3 separate regions of the Homo sapiens genome follow, and regions 1 and 3 are each linked to region 2. The links are contacts of gene promoters, found by promoter capture Hi-C in human tissues and cell types (Jung and others, 2019). All regions are on one chromosome and are shown on one strand. Each heading gives the region's core, a stretch centred on a gene start or on the middle of the fragment in contact. The rest is flanking DNA. Distances are from core to core; before and after follow the strand shown. Region 1 has its middle 17 kb from the start of LINC00575. Region 2 holds the start of TMEM150C (transmembrane protein 150C). Region 3 overlaps TMEM150C (transmembrane protein 150C).

Region 1 (3,508 bases), core at 602-3,101, 42 kb before region 2:
TAGAAATGTCTGGCATCATTTGAAAGTCCACTGGCCATGTTGTACTTTGAAATTCAGTTTAATTACCGTAAGCTCCATAGCATCCTATCACATGGATATAACATACTGTAACTTATTTAACTTTTCCCATATTTTGATATATTTAGGTGATTTCCTACTATAAATTAACTGAGATAAAAATCCCCACTCAGGGCTGGGTGTGGTGGCTCACACCTGTAATGCTGACATTTTGGAGGCTGAGGCAGGAGGATCACTTGAGGCTAGGAATTTGAGGCAGGCCTGGGCAACATAGAGAGATCTCAACTACAAAAAATTTAAAAATTAGCCAGGTGTGGTGATGTGCACCTGTGGTCCTAGCTGCTGGGGAGGTTGAAGTGGGAGGATCACTTGGGCCCAGGAGGTTGAGGCTGCAGTGAGTCATGATCATGCCACTGCACTCCAGCCTGGGTGACAGAGCAAAACCCTGTCTCAAAAAAGGGGAAAAAAAAATCCTCATTCGTTCATTCATTCATTCTACAAATATTTATTAAGCATTATGCTAGTCATTGTGTTAGGTCCAGCAGGATCTAAAGGTCTTATTCTCAAAGAGCTTATGTTGTAATGACAGGAAAAGAGGATTGCAAACAAGTGACTGTAAAATGGAATGCCTTCATACTTACAAGGAAGAAAAATAAAATGGTGCCAGACTGTAGTGCTACAGGAGTTGCTATTCCAGGTAGGGTGAGAGGGAGGGCTTGTGGAAAAGCTGATGTTTGATACAACCTATCCAATCTGGCAAATTGGGGAAGGTGTTCTATAAAGCACAACAACATCCACTTGAAGTTTTGTCTCTTTTGTTTTCTTTCATTGTTGTTTTGCTAATTGTATCACATATGAAAATAAATAAAACAGAGATCACTTGATTAAGTGAAATTACCACTGAAATCAAGACAAGTGCAGTTTGTACAAGTAAATGATGAGTCTACTGGATTTTAAAAAATCAGTGGCTGTTCAAAAAAAACACAATTAATATCATCTACTCTGTGAAATATGTGTGCTTTTAAATGAAAGGACAACATTGAAAACTTGGAAAAGCAGCCATCAAAACATGCTCCCTTGAAATGTGGCTGGATCTGTTTGTAATGGTTTCTTTCTTCTTAAGAGATTTGAGCGTTTTTTGCCCCTCAATAGTTTTGTCAACAACTAAACTGGCAGCAAATGAAAACTAGAAGACCTACTCAGACTCTGAAAGTAAATCTTTCACAACCTACTATTGCAATTTACTTTATTAAAAAGACCCTCTCTGCCTTTAAAATACTGCCCTAAATTTCAAATACTTGAATATCTTTGTCCCACTGATAACCAACTTCTTCATAATTTGGTACTTTAGTTTTATCACATTGCAAAATTTTAGGTAGCCAGATATCCAAATGTTTTCAAACTAAATTCCTGCTGTTGCTGTTTAAAATGTATATGTGTGTAGATGTATGTTTGTGCACATGTGTATGTGTGTGTACACGTGTATGTGTGTGTATGTGTATGCATGTGTGTCTGGTGTGTGTACATGCATATGTGTGTGCACATGTGTTTGTGTGTATGTGGGTGTGTGTATGTGTGCACATATGTGTGTGCATGTGTGTGTGTGGCATGTGTATTCTGGTTATCTATCTAATGCTGTGTAACAAACTATCCCAAAACTTGATGGCTTAAACATCAATCATTTTCCCATATTTATTGTCTGTGGGTTGAGAACTTGGGCAGGGCTTTCCTGGACAATTGTTATGCTCTGTATCACAGCAATGAGGTCACTCTGTGGAATTCAGCTGGTGGTGGGGCTAGGTTGGAGGGTCCAAGAAAGCTTTATTCACATGTGTGCCTCCTTGGCAGGAACAACAGGGAAGCCAGGCCCCTTTTTCTCTCCGTGTAGTCTCAAGAGCCCCTTTCTGTGGTCTCTCTAGCAGGGTTGTCAAACTTCTTACATGGTGGCTCAGGACTCCAGACCGTGTTCCAAGAGATGAGGGTAGAAGCTGCCAGTCTTTAAGGCCTAAAGGGAGCCTGGCACAGGGCCACTTGCATTGCATTCTATTGGTCAGAACAGTCCCAAAACCTGCTGGATTAAGAGGAAGTGACATAGACTTCACCCCTCAAACAGGAAGAGTATCAGAGAATTTTGTAGCCATGTTTAAGCTGCTACAATATATATTTAACTTTTTATTATGGAAATGTTAAATATATATAAAAGTTGACAATCAGTATGCAAACCTCTATGTACCCATCATTCAGCTTCAACAGTTGTCAACTCATGGCTAATTTGTTTCATGTATACCCCACCCACTTTCTCTACCCCTATATTATTTTAAATCAATCCCTAATACTAATTCATCCACTGCAGTTAAGTTTTATAGTGCTATGCTGAATAGAGGAGAGAACTTCTTTTAAAGGAATTATCTATTCATTTCATTTCACAGACTTTTCTTTGTTAATACCAACCTGCTCATACCTCTTAGAAGGTGTGTTTCTTCCAAGAAATCTCTATTTGAACAGACACAACAAGCGCTTTCCTGCCTATGTTCTGGTGAAACACAAACTGGACTAGGAGTCAGGAGACCTGGGGTCTAGCATCCCAGCCACTGACCAGCTATGGTAGATGATAATCATAATGATAATAGTTAACTCTTACTGAGTCCTCACTTGACTCCACATTCATTGTTTCACTTCTACGATTATTCCCATTTTACAGATAGGGTTAGAAAAGTTAAGCAACTTGCCCAGGATCAAAGAATAGCAGAGGTGGGATTGTATCTAAATCACACTAGGCCCTATTTCCTCCTGGATCCAATGTGGTCAATCATACAAACTCAGCCTACTTCACTGGAAAATTATATATTAAATGCTCAATAAACCACTTTGACAATACTTCAATATCAAATCGCAAAACCTTTTGAAATAGGTAATATATTTTCATGGCTCAAAAGTCGAAACAATATCAAACCGTGACGGGTCTGGCTCCCCTCCTCTTCCATTTATCTCATTCCACTTCCTATTTTCTCTGTACAAGTAAGCATTTTTATTATTTATTTATGCAAATACAGCAAATGTGAATGTGTGTATTATTGTTTCTCCTTTTTCTTACACAAAAGTAGCGCCTTTATGTGTTTAATCTGTATATTCCTGTACCAGCAAATAGCTTTCTCATCTTGTTTGATAGCTGCCTAGAATCTCATTATGTGGACACATCATCATTCATTTAACAAGTTCCCCATGGATGGACATTCAATTTTCCCCAACCTTTTGCTATTACAGACAGTCAGTGGCAGAACCTCTTAGTTCCCTGGTTTGTTCAGTGCTGCCATTTCTCACCCACTTCTGATGTTTAATACAAGAAATTCATCAGGTTTGACTTAAAGAACTATTCCTTCTTTCAGAGTCTTCTGATCAGGGCACCCCCAGGCACCTAAGAATCCGAACCCACAAATGTATCATTATCATCATCCCTTGTTACCAATCTTGTCTAGGTTTGCTTATTTTA
Region 2 (3,565 bases), core at 431-2,930:
AATGGCATGGGGACAGGGAGTAGAGAGAGGAGGGGTTCATGGATGGGCCTCAAGCAATCTTACCTTTGGGGGAGTCAGACCACTTTGAGGGTCTGATTAATGTGTAGTTACTCTCCTCAGAAAAGTACACATAAGCTAATTCCCACAAAATTGAGCATATACTTTCAAGGGAGTCTAGACTAAGATTCAGTTTTTGCTTTTGCTATTTTAATTGAATGGATAACAGTCCCACTCATTAAAATAAGGAAAACAAGAGAAGGCAAGATCCCTGGTCTCAGGAAGCTTACAGTCTAGTAGCCAGGAGAAAACAGTAACAAGAAATCAACATACAGAAAAAAAAAAAGAATCAATATACACATAGTAGACAATAATCACAAGAATTGTGGGGAAGGGAGAGTTCTGGAACCGAACGTTAATTGCAGAATTTGAATATGCTGAATTGGAGAAGATTCTTAGAAACACCTGGTTGGGCCGGGCGCGGTGGTTCACGCCTGTAATCCCAGCAGTTTGGGAGGCTGAGGCAGGCGGATCACTTGAGGCCAGGAGTTTTGAGACCAGCCTGGCCAACGTGGTGAAACCCCGCCTCTACTGAAAATACAAAAATTAATCGGGCATGGTGGCGGGCGCCTGTAATCCCAGCTACTCAGGAGGCTGAGGCGAGAGAATCGCTTGAACCCGAGAGGCAGAGGTTACAGTGAGCCGACATTGCGGCACTGCACTCCAGCCTGAGCGACAGAGCAAGACTCCGTCTCAAAAAAAAAAAAAAAAAGAAAGAAAAGAAAAGAAAAGAAAAAGAAAAAGAAAAAGAAAAAGAAAAAAAGGGAATGCCTGCTTGTGTAGAGACAGCAGTTTAAAGGAGACAGGTGTGCTACGGAAGCCCCCAAAAGAATAGAGGGCAGACTGACAAAGGCCGGTTGATAGAGAGCCACCTGTTGGAGGCCAGAGAGGTTGTGTTTGGAACCCAGGCTCATGATGAGCCTAAGATAAAAATGGCATTGATCCATGCTGCTGCTAGAGGTCACTGACATGGTGCCATGGGGTCCCATGGTAGGTTGGGGGTCCGGGATGGGGGAAGCTGTCAAAACGCTGATGAACACAGTTTATGACGGACTCAGACGAGACCCAGGGAGGAAAGCTGCAAGCTGGCGCTGGGAGGTCGGCCTTGGTGTCTGCTGTTCATTGCCAGGGTCCGAAGTTGGCTCTGTGTTTGTTCAATAGGATGGAAAAAAAAAAACCAAAAACCGCGGGACAGCGCTGAGTGGAGGAGAACTACATTCAGTCAATGGGCATGAAAATGAATTTTAGCTGCTTTGTGCAAAAACCCTAGGTGTGCGGACGAAAGAGAGCCAGGCAGAAGGTTACAACAGGTCAGGAATAAATAACCACCAGGCGGAGGATCCAAGATTCTGTCCTTCCTTTTGTTGGATGAGGAGCGCCAGGCAAACGCGTCCACAAAGGCTTCGGAAGGAAGCGGCTCGCCCGCCCACACCCGGCTCCTGCCCCGGGTGACTATTAGGGGCCCCGGGGGGGTGGCAGAAGCCCGAGACCCAGGGGATCAACTCTCCCCGAAGGCCTAGCAGCGGGGACCCCAGAATAAGTCGGGGGCGGGCCCCGGCGCGGCAGGAGGGGGCCGGGCGGGCGGGTGAGCAGATCCCACCCCTTCCTGAAGGAAGCGCCCTACCCGCCGCTACTGCTGCCGCCGCCGCCACCGCAGCAGGTCACAGCCCCTCGAGGCGACAGCGGCCCCGCCGCACCAGAGCAGGTAGGCGCGGCGCCCCCTCCCCTGCCTGGGCCCGTCGCGCAGCCAGGGGGCGTCCGGCCCGGCCCCGTGCGCAGCCCGCAGGCGGAGACCGGGGACGGCGGGGGCTGCAGCGCGGCTGGGGCGGCTGGGTCCGCCCGGCTGCGGGGCCCTGCTCGGCTGCGGCCCCCTCCCATAGCGTCCCGGGCGCGGGGCCGCCCGCCCGAGCCCTCCGCGGGCGCACGCTCCCCGGCAAGTCCAGGAGTCGGTGCCGGCTCTGCCCCGCGACCTGCGAACGCCCGAGCCGGCGCGCCTCGGTCCCCGCCGCCGCAGTGCCGCCAGCCAGCCCGCCCGCTGCGGCCCCGGCCCCGGCCCCGGCCCCGTCCTTTGACAGGTGTCCCCACCCGCCGCCCCATCATCTCGTTATCGGGTGGACTCGGGTGAGAAGCGACCCCAAGTTTGACCTCCCGGTCCCTGTGCCATTCTCCCTGCACTTTGCGGTTAGCCAGGTCAGGCTGGCTCGGGAAGCAGGGGATCTGGGAAGGAGGCACTAACTTGCTTTGCCCTGTGTACCGCCCTCCACTCTAAATGCACAGTCTTCCTTCCTTTCCTGGGCGCACACTTGGGAAGAAATGGGATTTTTGGTTTTTCGGCGGGAGGCCGTGGTAGGTGGGTTACCTAGGCTCTTTGGTAATCTGCTGCAATAAAAAAGTGATTAGCTTTGGGTTCTGGAGAGAGTCCTTGAGTGGTTTTCCCCTCCTTAAATGAATCAAATGGAGTATGAGAGGGTTTTCCCATTTTAAATTCATGCTCCTTTTTTCTCTACTCATTCCTTTCCTCCACCCCTACCCCCACAGCACTTTATGATGTCCCACACATTTCACTGATCTTTTTGGTCAGGTTTATTCCGGCCAGACCGCCTTTCACGGTTGGGCCAGGATTGTGACCGCATGTGGGAACATAGCTCAGGTAGAATGGAAGTCCATCTTCCCGAGTGAACCCACTCCGATGTCCTACATGCGAGGTCCTGTTGGGGAACCAGATATACCAATGCCATGTTGAAAAACAAAACCAAACAGTTATTGGATCTAAAACAATAACAAAGCCTAAATGGCAGGATCAGTTTCTGCATCTTTCTCTGCTTGAACCAAAGACATTTTAATAGTGCAGGGCTATAACTCCATTCTGGGCAGCAGTTCATCGAAAGGATAGTTGAGTGTGGATTTATAAACTCCATGGTAGCAGTCATTAAACTGACCTACTTAAAGTTTCCTATTTCAAGGAAAAATTGTTAGGCCCATATATGTGACCGATCAAAGAATTTTAGTCTCAGCTCTCATGTATCAAATCCCAAACTTTTTCTTGTATGTGTTCTAGAGACTCCATGTTTCCAGGATTAACTATAGCTGTCATCTATTAATGAGCTAGAAATGTGAGTTTAATCTTCAAGGCATAAGCGTAGGAATTTTAATGGTGTGTCCTTTATACATTATTTAATAAATGTTTTGCAAGTCCCCCAAGTTGGAAGCTCACAAACTGGACATGGTAAATAAAAGGGTAAAGAAGTTTTGCTAACAATAATGACTAGTTGATAGATGTTATGACATTCACAAATATATTAAAGTATTTGAAAAACACTTTAATGCATGTTTATTATAATCTGCCATTAGCTGAATGCAATCTGTTTGGATTATTTAAATTGGCATTTAAGTCTTCAGAGCAATTGCTTAATTCATGCATTTCTTACAAATACCTTTTCCATGTTGCTTTGTGGGGGGATAATTTGCTCTATGGAGTAATTTTTTTTTTTGCGTGAACACAATAATG
Region 3 (3,649 bases), core at 464-2,963, 59 kb after region 2:
ATCATGGTTTCATAAAATACACTTTTTTTTTCAGTTAGACTAAACTTTCTTTTTTGTTTGTTTTGAGACAGTCTCGCTCTGACGCCCAGGCTGGAGTACAGTGGCGCGATCTCGGCTCACTGCAAGCTCCGCCTCCTAGGTTCACGCCATTCTCCTGCCTCAGCCTCCCAAGTAGCTGGGACTACAGGCGCCCGCCACCACGCCCGGCTATTGTTTTGTACTTTCAGTAGAGACGGGGTTTCACTGTGTTAGCCAGGATGGTCTCGATCTCCTGACCTCGTGATCCGCCCACCTCGGCCTCCCAAAGTGCTGGGATTACAGGTGTAAGCCACCGTGCTTGGCCCAGTTAGACTAAACTTTCTATCTTGAAAGAGTGAAGTAAATGTTTTGCCTTAATTATTAATACGTGTTTATTTTATTTCAGTGGTACAGGCATGGATGGGAAGAAATGCAGCGTATGGATGTTCCTACCTCTTGTATTTACTTTGTTTACTTCAGCTGGATTGTGGATAGTGTGAGTATTTGCTCATTTAATTATTTAAGGATTCAGGTGCAATGTAGATACAAATGTAAACCTTAATAGTATATGGCAGCCGGGCACGGTGGCTCATGCCTGTAATCTCAGCACTTTGGGAGGCCGAGTCAGGCAGATCACTTGAGGTCAGGAGTTTGAGACCCTTGCCAACATGGGGAAACCCTGTCTCTACTAAAAATACAGAAGTTAGCCGGGTGTGATGGCACACGCCTGTAATCCCAGCTACTCGGGGGGCTGAGGCACAAGAATCGCTTGAACCCTGGAGGCAGAGGTTGCATTGAGCTGAGATTGCGCCACTGCACTCCAGACTGGGCAAGAGAGCAAGACTGTCCCCACCCCCCCAAAAAATAGTAGATGGCATATCTTTATGACTGTATTTATAAATACTTGAAAATAATATATTTTACTAATTCAACCTTGCTAAAGTCCTCATTTCTTTTCCCATTTTCTATTAACCAAAGTAAGTAACAAGAGTGAGTAATAATTATGCAAAGCCGGTGGTGAAGAATACTAGTTTATTTTGTGTTCATGTGTTCTTGTTGTAATGAACATTTTGTAAACAGGTTATATGAATTAATTATTTGCAAGATTTTCGAATTTGACACTAACATGCCATGGGTTCCGTCTGCAGTCCAGTTCATAGTCCAGTTATTCATGATTGGGTCTGATATGTTTTTGTTTTTTGTTTTTTGTTTTTGTTTTTTTTTTGAGACGGAGTCTTGCTCTGTTGCCAGGCTGAAGTGCAGTGGCATGATCTTGGCTCACTGCAAGCTCTGCCTCCTGGGTTCACGCCATTCTCCCGCCTCAGCCTCCCAAGTAGATGGGACTACAGGCGCCCACCACCACACCCAGTTAATTTTTTGTATTTTTAGTAGAGTCGGGGTTTCACCATGTTAGCCAGGATGGTCTCGATCTCCTGACCTCGTGATCTGCCCGCCTCGGCCTCCCAAAGTGCTGGGATTACAGGCGTGAGCCACTGCGCCCGGCCTGATATGTTTATAAAATGAATATCATTACATTGGAAGTCCTGGCTTACCACAGAACGTTCCCACACTTGCTTATTTTAGGTAATATTCACTTTAAGAAAATTATTTTAGTTTCTCAAAGTTTGTTAGGAAAGGTAGGACACATATTCCCGAGAAGTTAGAAACTGAACCCTAATTTTAGTTTGCTCAAAGTTGTAAGTTCTATTTCCTTGTTTTCTAGTTTCCAGTTTATAAGCATGGCCATTACTTTGGGGATGTTTTGAAAATTAAGGAAATATTACTAATAATGACATTTGAGCTTCAAAGAACTAGATGATCTATGGGTAAAGAATTGTAAAAGAGCATTTCTCAGTTAGAAAAAATGAATATGAATTAGTGCAGTTAGTTTAATAAAACTGGGAAACAAATGATTCTTTTTTCCAATTTCTTTGTTCTATAAACTTATTCTTTTTTGATAGATACTTCATAGCTGTGGAAGATGACAAAATTTTACCATTAAATTCAGCTGAAAGGTAAAGTTTATCTGTGGGTAATTCGTTGTTCATCAAGAGATTTAGCAAAAACTTTCCCACTGGGAAGGTTAAACTGCACAAATGACAGTGCTTTAACCTGAGCTTCTGTGTTTTTTTTTTTTATTATCCAGGAAACCTGGTGTGAAGCATGCACCATATATAAGGTAACCCAGCAATTCTCTTCTGTCCTGTGGGACCGTAGGAAAAGTTAGGAGGATTATAGATTTTGATATAGTAACTATAAAACATTTCATCTTTTTCAAGCATTGCAGGTGATGATCCTCCTGCAAGCTGTGTGTTTAGTCAAGTTATGAACATGGCAGCCTTCCTAGGTAAGAAGAGGGTAAAGAACGCTTTATGTGCTTTGGTACATTTCTTTTGTATTTTAAATTCTCCCAAACCCTTGTCAAAACAATGGGGGGCTTATTTGATCATTTAGTATCATACGATGTCAATATGCTGAAGCCAGCTCTTTGTCTTAAAGGTCTTTTTCTCTCGTACATCCATTTACGTTCACCCTGCTGTCCTTACATTTTCTCTTCCCTTTACCATCTTTATCATTTCAGATACTCTTGACTTGATCTATTTTGCTGCATAAAATAATATATTTCATGATATAAAATCCTGTATGAGAATGTAATATTGTATAATACATTTGCTTTGAAAAGAATGCTTTATTTATTCCTTCACTAGCAAAGATGAAAAAAATGCATGGGCTTTGTGATATTTGTTGATGTGTGTAGATACTGTCTTTAAACCTAAAGGTCAACATCAGCATTAGGATTACACTCTCTCCTGTGCCTATAGACATAGTAAGCTGGCAAATGGAGAAGTAAGCTTAAAAAGAAGAAACCTTTAGTACTCATATCTAGCCCCAGTTCCTTTTTCTTTGGGGCCCAAGACCCTCCTGTAATATTCTGTCCCTCTGTGAGTGCGTCCATGACCCTGCATAGTCCTCCAGAGATGGTGGGAACCAGCCATGCACTCTATCCTTTTTCTAATCTACCTTGTATACCATCTCCTCAGTGCCAGGCTTTCCCAGTGTCTCTCCAAGAGTCAACTGGCTATCACTGTCAGGATGATGTTAGGATGGACCAAAGACAGCCCATCCTTCCCACAATGGTGTTCTGGAAGTGGTTCTTTTGATGGTGAGACTTTCACTCCAAGTAAGAGGTAGTATTATTACTGAGGGAATATTCAACCTTTGTGGGACGTGTCTCCCAAAGAAGTAACCTGTTATTTCACCTCCACCCCTCAAAATTCCTACTCGCTCTTAATGTATTCTTTTTTAATATTTGCTATAAGAATGGGAAGACCTTTAGAAGTCAGTGGAAAATCAAGGGAGACAGGTGGTCCAACATGCAACACAGGCAGAAACTTAGCTGGTTCAGAAAGCCCAGAACATGAGAAACATGGAGAATGTTTCCCGTCAGGCTCATCAGGCCTCTCTTGAACCTGAAGCTTCAAAAAGAAGTACGCTGGGGAGCTTCTGTGCAGTTAGCAAGATTCTTCCCTGGAGCTAACCACCTTTCCATCAAAGCTCTCCCCAGCCATCCCCAAAGCGTATCCCATTTGCCAAAGCAGGAGGTGTCCGGAAAGCCTGGGCTGCTACACTA

What was found. Contacts are between HindIII fragments. The study calls those that stand out against the background at their distance.
Region 1: a contact is called between a fragment that was not itself captured here and the fragment with the promoter of TMEM150C in region 2, in 1 of the 25 tissues and cell types used here (mesendoderm cells).
Region 3: a contact is called between a fragment that was not itself captured here and the fragment with the promoter of TMEM150C in region 2, in 1 of the 25 tissues and cell types used here (IMR-90 fibroblasts).

Annotation. Positions count from the first base shown.
Region 1 is chr4:82,602,747-82,606,254 of GRCh38, reverse strand. No RefSeq gene overlaps it. Among named protein-coding and RNA genes, the nearest start is that of LINC00575, 17 kb to the left of the region's middle. The HindIII fragment of the contact is 4,070 bases long and covers 1-3,508 here.
Region 2 is chr4:82,560,103-82,563,667 of GRCh38, reverse strand. TMEM150C (transmembrane protein 150C) reads left to right here and starts at 1,680. Exons shown (of 8, transcript NM_001080506.3): 1 at 1,680-1,762. RefSeq lists an enhancer at 1,455-1,954. The HindIII fragment of the contact is 10,143 bases long and covers 1-3,565 here.
Region 3 is chr4:82,501,443-82,505,091 of GRCh38, reverse strand. TMEM150C (transmembrane protein 150C) reads left to right here. Exons shown (of 8, transcript NM_001080506.3): 2 at 425-514; 3 at 1,980-2,033; 4 at 2,165-2,197; 5 at 2,298-2,365. The coding sequence starts at 435. Among named protein-coding and RNA genes, the nearest start is that of TMEM150C, 59 kb to the left of the region's middle. The HindIII fragment of the contact is 8,691 bases long and covers 1-3,649 here.